2 separate regions of the Homo sapiens genome follow, and region 2 is linked to region 1. Evidence: promoter capture Hi-C in human tissues and cell types (Jung and others, 2019). All regions are on one chromosome and are shown on one strand. The core of a region is centred on a gene start or on the middle of the fragment in contact, and the rest is flanking DNA. Distances in the headings are between cores, read along the strand shown. Region 1 holds the start of TRIM11 (tripartite motif containing 11). Region 2 has its middle 19 kb from the start of PRSS38.

The links. The method cuts DNA at HindIII sites, captures the fragments that hold promoters and counts their contacts. A contact is called where the count stands out against the background at its distance.
Region 2: a fragment that was not itself captured here is called in contact with the fragment with the promoter of TRIM11 in region 1 in 1 of the 25 tissues and cell types used here (spleen).

What each region holds. Positions count from the first base shown.
Region 1 is chr1:228,403,341-228,409,735 of GRCh38, forward strand. TRIM11 (tripartite motif containing 11) reads right to left here and starts at 3,495. Exons shown (of 6, transcript NM_145214.3): 1 at 2,814-3,495. The coding sequence starts at 3,221. TRIM17 (tripartite motif containing 17) reads right to left here. Exons shown (of 7, transcript NM_016102.4): 5 at 6,049-6,071; 6 at 5,832-5,935; 7 at 4,595-5,411. The coding sequence ends at 4,861. It overlaps LOC124904537 (a long non-coding RNA gene), which reads left to right and starts at 5,931. Exons shown (of 2, transcript XR_007066918.1): 1 at 5,931-6,394. RefSeq lists silencers at 3,207-3,446, 3,507-3,596, 3,737-3,806 and enhancers at 4,157-4,206, 4,398-5,057. The HindIII fragment of the contact is 21,686 bases long and covers 1-6,395 here.
Region 2 is chr1:227,793,373-227,799,767 of GRCh38, forward strand. No RefSeq gene overlaps it. Among named protein-coding and RNA genes, the nearest start is that of PRSS38, 19 kb to the right of the region's middle. RefSeq lists an enhancer at 484-1,147 and silencers at 751-919, 2,562-2,762. The HindIII fragment of the contact is 3,139 bases long and covers 1,170-4,308 here.

The DNA.
Region 1 (6,395 bases), core at 2,245-4,744:
TAGCAGAGCCAGGACTTCAGCCCAGCTGCCTGGCTCCAGGTGCTCACTTTAGTTCACCACTTGGCCTCACGATTCGGGAAGACCGCTGGAGCACCAAGGACATGTCCAACTGCTTTACTGTCTCTGCCTAGGCTCAGCTCTCACGTGAGCTACAAGAACCCCAAATGGCGGTCCCTGTCCCCAGGCCTCTCTCCTCACTGCTGCCGACCTGTTCCAGAAAACTCAGGCCTGGCCCCTGTGACCCCAACCCCACCTCAAACACTTGGCCCAGTGCCTCTCACTTCTCCCTCAATGCCTCAGTCCCTACGGGACATTTTCAGTTTTCTTTTTTTGAGACGGAGTCTCGCTTTGTCCCCCAAGCTGGAGTGCAGTGGCACGATCTCGGCTCACTGCAACCTCTGCCTCCTGTGTTCAAGTGATTCTTCTGCCTCAGCCCCCTGAGTAGCTGGGATTACAGGTGCCCATCACCACACCCAGCTAATTTTTGTATTTTTTGTACAGATGGGATTTCACCATGTTGGCCAGGGTGGTCTCAAACTCCTGACCTCAGGTGATCCGCCCACCTCGGCCTCCCAAATTGCTGGGATTACAGGCGTGAGCCACCACACCTGGCCAACGTTTTCAGTTTTCAACACTAAGGTTACAAACAGCATTTGATCAGATGGAATGGGCTGTAAAGCAGCACAACATACCCAGCATGGCAAAGATCTTGCATTTCAGGTACCTGCATCTTTGTGTCTCTGGCCAGATCAGAACAGAAACCTCTTACCCTGCGTGTAGTCAGAACTGGGATGCTGGGGCTTGGTGCAGGCCTGGGATCTTCCCTGGCCTCCTCCTTCCTGTGGCAAACCCCCTCCCCACACAAGTGCCATCTGACACACAACCCAGAGAGATCTGGGGGCCATCTTCTCTCTCCCATGGTGCTGCTTCCTGGAACTGGAGCTTACTGGGACTTCCCTGTTTACCACCTCGGGGCAACCCAGCCTGGGGCTTGTTCAGCTGTCATGACCCCAGGTCAGGGCCAGGCAAGGAGTGAACCTGTCATGGAGCTAATGGGCCCCAGCTCTGGCAAGTGGACACACAGCCCCATAGGTGGGACTGAGCTTTCTAGGCCCATGGGGGCAGGTAAAAGCAGTTTGCTGTGGTTAACATAACCTAGGCTCTAAGGCAGTGAAGAACAGGATGTCATCCCCAAATATACCGCTGTGGTACAAGAATTATTCTGAGTAAAAGCAGATGCAGGAAGAGCTCTCTGTACTCCTATCTGCCTAAAAGTAGGGTATTCATTCCCCATGAGAAAGGCACCCTCTCTCTACCAGGAAGAGGAGGGCACTCTAATCCTGGGAGATGATTCTGCCTAAACAGACCTTACTACAATGACCATTATCTTGTGTTAATTCTTCCCATCTATTTCCTAGTCACTTTCCCACAATTTATCAGTCCTAGACGCCCAATCCCATTTCTGTGTCCAGTCACTTCTCCACAATTCACAAACCTTTGCTGAAATACGCTTTTCTATGAAGTTCTTGTGCATGTGAAACTTAAAATATTAATCAAATTGTATGATTTTTTTTCCTGTTAATTTGTCTTGTGCCAGTTTAATTTGCAGCCCTGAGCCACTGAACCTAACAGGGTAGAGGGAAATTTTTTTCTTCACCTGCAAAAGAAAGGGTTAAGTGCTATCCCATGAAACTATATCGAGTCAACTCTATAGAGCTATTGGGCACTCTCTGCACCCATTGGGGTAATTGGTGTCACAAGGGTAATTCTGCTGGGCTAACATGTTTCAGGTGTAGACATTCCTGCATGGGCAAAGAAAAGAAAACCCAAATGAATCTGTGTCTGAACAAGCCCACGGATATGGCTCTAAACCACCTTTCTGCTAAAATCCAAAGCAGAAGGGGACAGATTCAGATTTATTCTAGTATCCCAGAAGTTTGCTCTGTGATAGGGACAGATCAAGCTCAGTACTGATTCTAACACTGCCTTAACTGCTCATCTGGCACACACAAGTGACCATGATGCAACACACAAAGTGCAATCAAGAAAGCTCCAAAGATGCTGCCATCTGCCCCACACGTAGGCTCCCAGGAGCACACCTGCAGCAGGTCAGCGAGGAAAGAGGACAGCGGGAGGGAGCGCAGGCCAGGGAACGTGTGCCCCAGGCCCTTCAGCTCGGGTTTTATTTGGGTTTTAAGCAGCAAGACAAGGGGAGAAAAGGCAGGCTGAGCCCTGGCATCTCAGATGGCAGAGATGGCTCCCAGTACCCCACCCAGAAATGCAGGGCAGCCCTGGAGGGGAGGTTAGAGAGGAAACGACTGTGTCCCCCTCATCCTGCCCAGTCTGGGGCTTTCCCAGGACTTAAGTACTGACCTGCTAACACAGTCCCTGCAGGGAGTCCATCTAGGATCGGCCACCTCTGAGGTTCTCCCACTTTCCTCTGATTCCAGCTCCTTGCTGGCCAGGGTATGGCCACATTTTCCTTGCCCCCACTCCACCACCTTCCACCTTCCACCTTCCTCTCTTAGCCTCTATCTATGAGAGGTACGCCCCTCACCCCCGAGAGCAGGGTCTCATTGGCGGCCATGGTCCCAGCCTCAAGGGGCCTGGTTGAAACAGGCTGTGTCATGAGCCCCCACAGCCACCCTGCGCGACACCCCCCTCACAGGCCCACAGCAGGCTGCATCCTGAGCTCCCCGCCCTAGACAGAGACAGATTACTCCCGGAGCAGTCCCCCAAACCTCCCACCCGCCCAGGCCTCCCCAGTCCCCGGCTCCCCGACGCCCCTGCACGCCACCCCCGCCCAGGAGCACCTTGAGGTCTTCGGCCGCGTCCTGCAGCGGCCGCACGCGGTGCGCCCAGTGCTCCCCAGAGCGCTCGCAGGCCGCACACAGGAGGCGCAGCTCGTCGCCACAGAAGGCGGCCAGTGGCTCGCGGTGCGCGGGGCACACGCCCTGCGGGACCGGCGACGGCGGGTGCAGGCGCCGCGCCATCTCGGCCATCTTAGCAAGCGGGCGGTTGGGCCGCAGGTTCCTCTGCGGGGACAGCTCGCGGCACTCGGGGCACGCGTACGGGCCCTCGGGCTGGCCCCAGCAGCGCCGGATGCACTCGCGGCAGAAGTTGTGGCCGCAGTCGGTCATCACCGGATCCGTGAAGTAGTCGAGGCAGATGGCGCAGGTGGCCTCCTCCTGGAGGTTGGTGGACAGGTCGGGGGCGGCCATGGCGCGGACAGAGGGGAGGAAGGCGGTACTGTCCGCGGGGCGGCGGCGGGCGGCCTCGGCAGCTCGCGGGGACGCGGGGTATCCGGGTGCGGCGGCGCAGGCTCGGGCACTCCGGGGCGCGAGGCTCGGGACTCCCGGGTGCTCGGGCTCCGGGGCGCGGGGACTCCAGGGCGCAGGACTCTGGGTTTCGGTAGCGCTGGGCGCGTAGGCTCCGAGCGCTCGGGGGACGCGGGACGTAGGGATCCCGGATGCCGGCAGGAAGAGGAGCCGAGGCGGAAGCAGGAAGCGACTGGGTGGGTTTTGTGTGTTTTTTTTTTTTTTTTTTTTTTTTTTTTTTTTTTTTTGGAACAACCCGCTTTTGCCTCCGATTGGCCGCTGCCAGTCACGCGGCCCGCGGGCGGGACGGAATTGGAGAGCTTTCACTTGCTGACCTGGCGTCACCACCGCTCCGGTTCTTGTGGCCAGGTCTTTTACCCCTGCCCTGGGGAGGACTCAGGCGCAGGGGAGGGATGGGGACAGGGGGCGGGGCGCAGGGGAGGGATGGGGACAGGGGGCGGGGCGCAGGGGAGGGATGGAGCAGGGGGCAGGGCAAGGAGGGATGGGGACTCAGGGCGGGGCACACGGAAGCAACTGCAAGGACTAAGGGAGTCCGCAGCCTGGGGCATTGGAGCCCTTCGCCATACCCCTAGTGCGTCCTCACCCCCTCAGCCCGTGCTTCCCAGGGCGGGTATCCTCGGAAGGCCCGGCCCTCACAGCCTTGGCAGGCCAAGGTCAGAATGATTGGAGTTGGGGGATGGGACGGGGGCATCCCTCCAGGACCAGCTCTCCAGGAGGCCCACATTCTTTCTGCGGGAACCACTCCAAAGGGGCATGCTGTTCCAGGCAGCCCCTCGCGCAGACACTCCGGCTTTGTCGAGGTAGGAGTACGCTTACTCTGGAATTCTGCCTTGCTAGTGACTGACACAGGCTGTTAAAGTGCTTGACCCTGCAGGGGTGGGTGGGGGGTTCCTTGGAAAAGGTAAGGGCGCTGTGGAAAAGAGGCCCCTACATAAATCCTAATCTCTTTGGGATTTTGCCCCTGCTCGTGCAACTTTGGGGATCGAACGGGATGGGGGTGGGCAGCTCTGAGGCTTTTTACGGGTTCAGCCTTTCCCATTTTCCCCCATCGAAGGACCCAATAGGATGCATAGGACATTTCTATGGGCAGCCTGGGACCATCCCTGACACAGCAACCACCCCCGCTCCTCCCCACCATAGGATATTTCTACTTCTTTGACAGAGTAACCTAAACCCCTGGGGGGGCTGGGAGCCACAGATTCCTGTCATTCCAAAGTGGGGGTGGGGGCATGGCTAAAAAAAACGTGACCACGCTGTTCCTGGTGTGTAGGTATGGATTTAGAAATCGGTCCACTCAGAACGCAGGGGCTTTCAAAAGTTTCCTCTAGGAAGCATCTGTCAGTATACCCTCTTAATGTTTGACAGTTCTAATCACAATTATATTTAGAATTTGAGAAACCCCCCTGTGTGTCTAATGGCTGCCAGCGTGATGCCAGAGAACCCTGGCAGGTGGCCTGCAGTAAGCAGAAGGCCCACACCTTCTGCAGAGCCAGGAGCAGTGCCCGAGTCCCCCGGTCTGTGTCTATCCTTTCACCCACATGGTCACTGTGGAGATGACCATCTGACCAGACTTCGGAGCCCCCAGGCAGAAGAAAGGCTGCAGGGGGCCTGGGAAGGTGGCCTGGGAGTAGGTGTGCAGGTGGGACCCATCGCTTACACTGTAGAAGGACACTTCCCCGGCTTCGAAGTCCAGGAAGATGCCCATGTGGCTGGGAGGCTCCATCAGCATGACCGGGGTTAGGGCAGAGAAGGTGGATAAGTACTTGGTCCCCTTGGACAGCTGCACCACCCAGAAGCCGTTTTCGGGGCACTTGGGGACCCTGTCTTTCCGGCTCACGTTGTCCCTGCACACACCCAGGGCCCACAACGCGTCCCCGGTGATGTTCATGCCCACCTCCCAGTAGTGCCTCCCAGAGGAGAAGGCCGTCTGGCCCACAGCACAGGGGTAAGCCACAAATCGGTCCTTGCTGCAGAACCCACTGCCCTCCGGCGAAGAGCCGAGGTAGCGCCTCTGGCGGCTCTCATACAGGAGGAGGTAGGGGTACGCGGAGGTGGCATCAGGCACCACATCCTCTGTAGATGGGCGTGGTGGTGGAGAGATGGGGAGAGGTGTGGGGCATTCAGGGTCAAAGGTGGGAGTCCCCGGGCCCTAGTGGTGGATGTGGCCAATGGTCCCCTAACTCCGCAGAGGCCTCCCCTGCTGTGAATCTGGGGTTACTTGATGCTTCCACACACCAATTGTGTGTGGGCCTTGGTGGCAATAAGGTACAGGGGGCTGGGCAGAGAGACCACTGGGAACTCAACAAGATTCATCCCATGAATTAGAACCACCAGTAACGCCGCCCTACGAAGGCACAGTGAATAGCCAGTGACCGTCACCAGGCAGTGCACTTGTAGAACCCCCCCCATTGGTGGCTTCCGAGGCTAGGGGGTACAGTGGGGCATCGCCAAGAGATCCTGGGTCAGAGGTCCTGGCCCTGGGTGCCCACTTACCTAGAAAGCCTCTTAGCACTTCAATCTGTCCGGGAACTCTGCACACAGTCCTGGGTCTGGTTGGGGGGGCAACCTCTGGGCACTGCACACTCACGTTGTTCTTCCTCCGGTGGGCACACACAGGGGAGTCTTATTGACTCCCCTGGCCCGACAGTCTTATTGTCCCCCCCGCCCACCGCTGCCACTGCCCCCGCCCCTGCCTGAGGGGACCACATACCTGCTCAGGGGTTCCTTCATGTCCTGCAAAAGACAGGGACGGAGGGTGGGGAGTGAGCCAAGCTCCTGGCTCACCTCAATGTCCCTGCTCCCTTCTTGTCCGTGTCTTAGGGCAAGACCCATCCTGTCCCCTGGGCATTCCCTTCCCACAATTGAGCTTCATGGCACTCCTGAGCCTTCCCCACTGCCCTAGCTCCCACTACCACCAGAGCCCCCAGTGCCTCACCTAAGCTGAGCTACCCTGTCAGCCCACGGCCACACGCCTGAGGTCCTGCAACTCAGGAGAGGCGGAGGGACCCCTTCCAGGCAAGTGGCCACTCAACACTGACCCTCCTCTCCCATTTCAGG
Region 2 (6,395 bases), core at 1,489-3,988, 610 kb before region 1:
CCTGATGTGGGTGATCCCCCTGCATGGGGCTGTCTCCCTGCCCCAGGGGCCTGTGCTCACGGGGGTGCAGGGTCCCATAAACTTCCCAAGGTAGATCCCACACCAGCAGGAGCCTCTTCCAAGGAGGCTGGGAATCAGGGCCTGGGCCCCTCAAAGGGTCCTGGGAAGTCCTGGTCACTCCAGCATGACCTCCTGCACAAGTGACCGAGTGTGCCACCCACTGCTCTCCCGATGCTGGGCCAGGGCAGCCCAGCCTCCAGCCAGCTGCACGGAAGAGGGATTGGGAGAGCAAAGCTGGGGCCGCTCAAGTCAGGGCTGGGCTGCCCCAGGGTCCTGGGGACTTCTGCCCTTCCATTTTGCTTGGCAGGCCCTGTGGTGCTAGGGGATGGGAGGTGGCCTGAGGGGCTATCTTCTCAAATGCCCCAGAGCTCGGAGCCTACTGTGCTGGGATCAGCCAGTACTTGGCCCTGGGAGGAAGACAGGCAGCCCTCATGCCTTCCGAGGAGGCCTGAGCCAAAAGCCAGCATCCCTGGGAAGCCAGGCCATGGGAGGAGACCTCTCTCCAAACAGGTCTCCTGCTGGAAGCCACATCCCAGCCGCACTTCCCAGGAGTCCCCCCAGCCCTCTGGGGCCAAGAGAAGTCAGGAGCCATGCTGCCTGCGGCTGCTGGGCTGGAATGTGGGATGAGGGACTGGGATCAGGTTTCCTCCCCTGCCTGACTTGCTCATTTCAGGAGGGGAGCTGGGCCCTACTCTAATCAGGACCAGCTGTGCTGGCTGGGGCAGTGGGGGATGTGCCTGCGGGGAGAGCAGGGCCCTGCACTCCCTCCTGGCTCCCAGGAAATCCCCAGGAAGCTCTTACGGTGGGAGAAACTGAGGCCTGGGGTGTGGAGCTGCAGCACACCCCTGTCCAGCCACACAGGGCCCTGCCCTGAGAGAAGCTGGCTGCCCCAGCTTCCCCAGCACCCAGTGCCATCAGAGCTGGTTCTGTGCCTCTTGGCAGCAGGGGGCAGGGGCATCGCCCACTGGGATGCTCCTCAGGCCAGCTCCAGAGGGCCGTCCCAGGAACATGACAGCTGTGGCGAAGGGAATTTCATACTGGGAGCCCCCCGGCACCCCAGCCATTGCAGAGGGAGGATCTAGCCATGTCTGGGCTGCTGGGCCAAATTCCACCACACCAGCTTGGGCACAGGACCAATGCCGTGGGCGGCCACGGCTCTGCAGGAGCTGGAAGTCAGGCTGGCCTCCAGTCAGGGAGCCGAGGTGGGTGGGCCCACTGGGTGCTGGGGAGGAGACAGAGATCAGTTCCACTTTGGCTGAGACTTACAGAGAGGCTGGGCCCTGGACTGGGGGATCACAGAGGGTGAGAGGGGCACTGTGGCTGGCTCAGGGCTGAGGGGTGGTGTGGCCCTGGCAGGAGGGTCCCTGGCAGGACACAGAGGGTAGCTGGGAAGGTCAGGCATTGGGGCAGGAGCTGCAGGGCCCAGCGCCAAAGGAAGCAGTGTGCTCAGACACCTGCGCTCCAGACCCCAGGGGCTTCTCTAGGCAGGGATCCTCCAGGCCACCCAGCAGCCTCACACCGCGCCTCACACTGCTGTTCTCCTATGAGGGGCAAAGAGGGTTGGAGGAAGACACCTTGGGACAGGCCCAGCTGTGGGGAGGGGCAGCAACACACAGGCGGGGCTGGGCCCCAGGGCAGGTCCCTTCTCGATAGACCAGGCTGCCTTCCAAGCCAGCGGGCAGCACAGGCACCGCAGCCTCGCCAGGGCCCCGGCAGGTGTCCTCCCACGACCTCCTGAACTCCTCTTTCCCTCAGGAGGTGCCCCCAACCCCTCCTTCCCACAGGAGCCGCCCCCCCAGCCCCGCCTTCCCTCAGGAGCTCCCCCCACCACCCCCGGCTTCCCTCAGGAGGTGCCCCCCACCCCCTCCTTCCCTCAGGAGCTCCCCACACTAGTTCCTCCTTCCCTCAGGAGCTCCCTCCACCACCCCCTCGTTCCCACAGGAGCTCCCCCAACCCCCTCCTTCCCACGGGAGCTCCCCCCACCCTCTCCTTCCCACGGGAGCTCCCCCCAACACCCTCCTTCCAGGGGAGCTCCCCCAACCCCCTCCTTCCCACGGGAGCTCCCCCAACCTCCTCCTTCCCTCGTGAGCTCCCTCCACCACCCCCTTCTTCCCACGGGAGCTCCCCCCACCCACTCCTTCCCACGGGAGCTCCCCCAACCCCCTCCTTCCCACGGGAGCTGCCCCCACCCCCTCCTTCCCATGGGAGCTCCCCCAACCTCCTTCCTTCCCTCGGGAGCTCCCTCCACCACCCCATCCTTCCCACGGGAGCTCCCCCCACTCCCTCATTCCCACGGGAGCTCCCTCCACCACCCCCTCCTTCCCACGGGAGCTCCCCCCACTCCCTCATTCCCACGGGAGCTCCCCCAACCCCCTCCTTCCCTCGGGAGCTCCCCCAACCCCCTCCTTCCTCAGGAGCTCCCCTACCCCTTCCTGGCCTCTGGTGCAGAGCAGACCTGGGGCTCTGGTCTGAGGGGGGGCCTTGGTGGCCTGGGACCTGGGGACACTCTGGGAGCTCCTTGCACACAGGAACATGAGCTCCAGCGCCTCAGCAGGGCCCCTGGTGTAGGAGCAGAGCTGCTTCCCAGGGATCGTATCTCAGCTGGACACGGGGACTCAGCTCTGCTGGGATTTGGACTGTGGGCACTGTGTGGCCTTTAGAGCTTCTAGCCCATCCTGAGGGAGGCCAGTGACTGGTAAGACATTCTGGGCTCTCGGAGCCTGCACAGCTCAGGGACAGGTATTCTGGCCTAGAGGTCAAATACCAAAGCCCCTCACATCCTATCCATACACCATCCACCCATCCAATGCAGGGGTTTATCAGTGGTCTCACATACAGGGCACAGTTGCCACGGGACTGCAGAGTTGGGTGGACAAACCCCTCAACATTCCCATTCCTCTCTCAAAGTCCTTCCAAACAGAAGCCACTGTCACCCACAGGGCCTGATCTAGAACTCCCTGCTAACCCCCAGGCCCACTCTAGAACTCCCTGCACCCCCAGGCCCTCTCTGGAACCCCCTGCCATGTACCTGCAATGTGCCCTGCATGGCGCATGGTGGGCTGGTTACTCACAGCAGCTGCCCAAACTCCCCTTGGGCCTACTGCCGGCCCCACCCACAGTCCCATCCCCTCCTGGACACAGCCCTCTCCAGCCTCATCTGTCAACGGGGAGCCCTGATGGGCTGCAGAGCAGGAGGAGGTGGGTCCCTGAGGAGTGCTTGGACGACCCCAGGGGTGGCTGGTGGTATGGGCTGGTGGTAGGCCTGACGAAGCATGTTCTATGTAAGGGGCTGGGTGGAGGTGTCAGGTGCACCTAACTCAAAAAGTCTGGAACTGTGCTCAGTGACCAGGGGGCCTAGCCCAGGCTGTCTCTGTAGCAAACCCCATCATCCCAAGAGAGATCCAGGAGCACCTCCCATAATCCTTCCTCCAAAGGGACCATGAAACCCTCCAGCATGCAGCTGCCCCCACCTCACCCTCCTGGGGTTGGGAATGTACCTTCTCACCCCACCTCGAGGCCTGGCCTGCTGCAGCCCCCATTCCCCCTTGGCTCTGTCGAGCATCCGGGCTTCAGGCTGTCCCAGCTCAGACCAGCCTCTCCTCTGCCTCAGTTTCTCTGTCTGTGATGGCCTTACAAGCTTCTTTCTGCCCAGCTGAAAATGGGGTGGCATATGGTGAGTGGCCAGCAGACACCCAGGATGGGTCAGGTGGCTCCAGACACAGCAGGGGTGGTGCCAGGACCACAGCCTCACTTCTCCAGCATCCTCCATCCACAGACAGGAAGCCCTGGGCAGCCCAAGTAGCTGCTGTGGCCTGGGGGCCCCAGGACCACTGACCCCACTCCACTCTTCCACACAGGTGGGGGCTGTGAGAGCCTCGAGGGAAAGAGGACACAGGAGGAAGGTGGGTGCGGTGATGGCTCAGGGACCACCTGCAGCTCCAGCTGGCCTGGATAATGGCAGGGTCTGTGGGGCAATGGCCCTGCTACAGGACTGGGGCCGCTTTGCTCCTGAATGCTCACCTGCCCAGGTAAGTTTACACAGAAGCCTCCTCACCCACCCACAAGAAAGAAGCAGATGTCCCTGTGAGGGTAGGGGTAGGCACAAAATCACAGATGACTGTAGGAAATTTCCAAGGAGATGAAAACATTCTGTGTCTTTGCTGGGGAGATAAACACAGGCGTGAGTAAATTTGTAGAATATCATTAAACTGTACCCAAAGAATGTATGCATTTCAAAGTATGTGATTCAAAAAGGCAGTAGAAAACAAATCAATTAAAAGGGTAAATGTGGGCCGGGTATAGTGGCCCATTCCTGTAGTCACATTGCTTTGGGAGGTGAGGTGGGAGGATGGCTTGAACCTGGGAGTGGGAGGATGCAGTGAGATGTGATCACACCACTGCACTCCAGCCCGGGTGACAGAACAAGACCCTGTCTCAAAAAAAAAAAAAAAAAAAAAAAAAAGCAGGAGGCAGAAGGGAGGCAGTAAATTCACCCACATATTTGAGTCTAATTACCTGGCCAGTGGCATAAGGGGAACAGCCAGACTACAGCACCCAACAGATCCAGAAGGTGACCGTGATCCAGATTCCTTAGCAATTTATGTGACCCAACGCAACTGGATTCTTGTAATCGCTAACAAAATCCAAAGGAATGAGGATGACATATTCACTAGATGGAACATGAAGACACAAAGAGAAGAGAAATGCCCCTTTTGGACCTCTGTGATCACTGTAGTGGGACCAGGGCCATGTGGCTGCGTTGCTTTCTCTCTGGGCCATCCCTCAGAGGGACCTGGGTCCTGGGAGCTCTGGCTTCAGTGGAGCCATGCGTGATGCTCTAGGCCTGTCCCGCTTTGAAGCTTGGGAGGCATCTAAGATGCCACAGGAGCTTCGTGCCTCTGAGTGGGGCCTTGCTGGGCAGCTGTGCACCTGGACAGCAGGGTGTCTTCCGTTTCTGGCAGTAGGCTCTGTGGATCCCATTCACTTCTAACGTGAAGGCTGTGTGACTCTCCCTGACCCCAGATTCTGAGATTAAAGCCAGTTTGTGTGATAGAGGGTCACACGAGACATAGAGATCACAAGGCATCTGTCCTAACACCGTGTGGGGTCCGTGTAGGCAGCTTTCTTGCCGTGTGCCTGCTGATCATGTGGAAGACGCCCAACACGTGGCATCTGCTGCAGGTCCAGCTGGGCGAATTTTGCTGAATCCAGGTAGACACCACACCACGGGAGATTGCACCAGGTCTTCAAAGATTACAGACAAAAGCAGGTGGCTTGCACCAAACTCTCTGGAAGACTCTGGAGATGACGTGGCCATTGTCAAGATGAGGACCTTGAAGACGGATTTGTCCCTGTGGTCTGTTAAAACAGAGACCATAGACTGACAGAACAAACTTTTTGTGGCAGAAGGTGCCAAATTGTAAACAAAACCTAAGACCCTGCCAGGCAAGGAGTTAAGTCACACAACCCTACACTTAAAGAATAAACTGTGTTCTGGCTGTGCTACAAGGGTTTTCTTTTTTTCCAGCAGCCAATCAAGCACTGGCCTTGAGCTAAGCAACATTAAGACAATTGCAGTTCATCCAGCTCACAGAGGCTGACTCTCCGACCTCCTGCTCCACCAGCCATGACTGCAGCGTTCAATGGATGGGACACTGACTTCAGGAGCTTTCTCCTGATGAGAGACCACGACTACGAACTGGTTCTGGCCAGTTTACAGAGGCTGTGCACTTCCACACCATCATGTCCCTGCTTCACCTTTTGATATCTAGAGCCTAACTGTAGCACATTTAAATGTTAAGTCTCAACCCCAAAGTGAACATGCACTGTATGTTACATGCATGTTTGTTCAGTATGCATGTGTGTGTCCCCCCCACCGCAAGAATTTGTGAATCTTCATAGTTCCTCCTGTAACCTGTCCAGTATGTATGCTTGTCCAACCATTCAGTGTCTTTGTTTTGAAATGTCTAGGTACCTGCAGGGAGCCGCAGCTGTAGTACTCAGAGTCCCCATTGCCCTTCAACCTCCCCAATCATGACATCTTATCTAACTGTAGAGTACAATGCAGACAACTTTACTGCAGACCTTATTCGGTTTTCAGCCTTTTTTAAAACCTTCGTCCTTGCGTGTGTGTGTGAACACATCTAGTTCTATGCCACTGGATCCTGTGTGGAGATTCTTGGAACCACCACTGCCACCAGGATACAGAACAGCTCTGTCACCTCCAAGGAGCTCTTACACCACTGTGTAGAGTCATGCTGCCCCAAAAATCCACTTCTCCATAAAGCAATGACAAATATTGTCAAAACCAATTTTTCAGAACTCTGGAAGTTAAT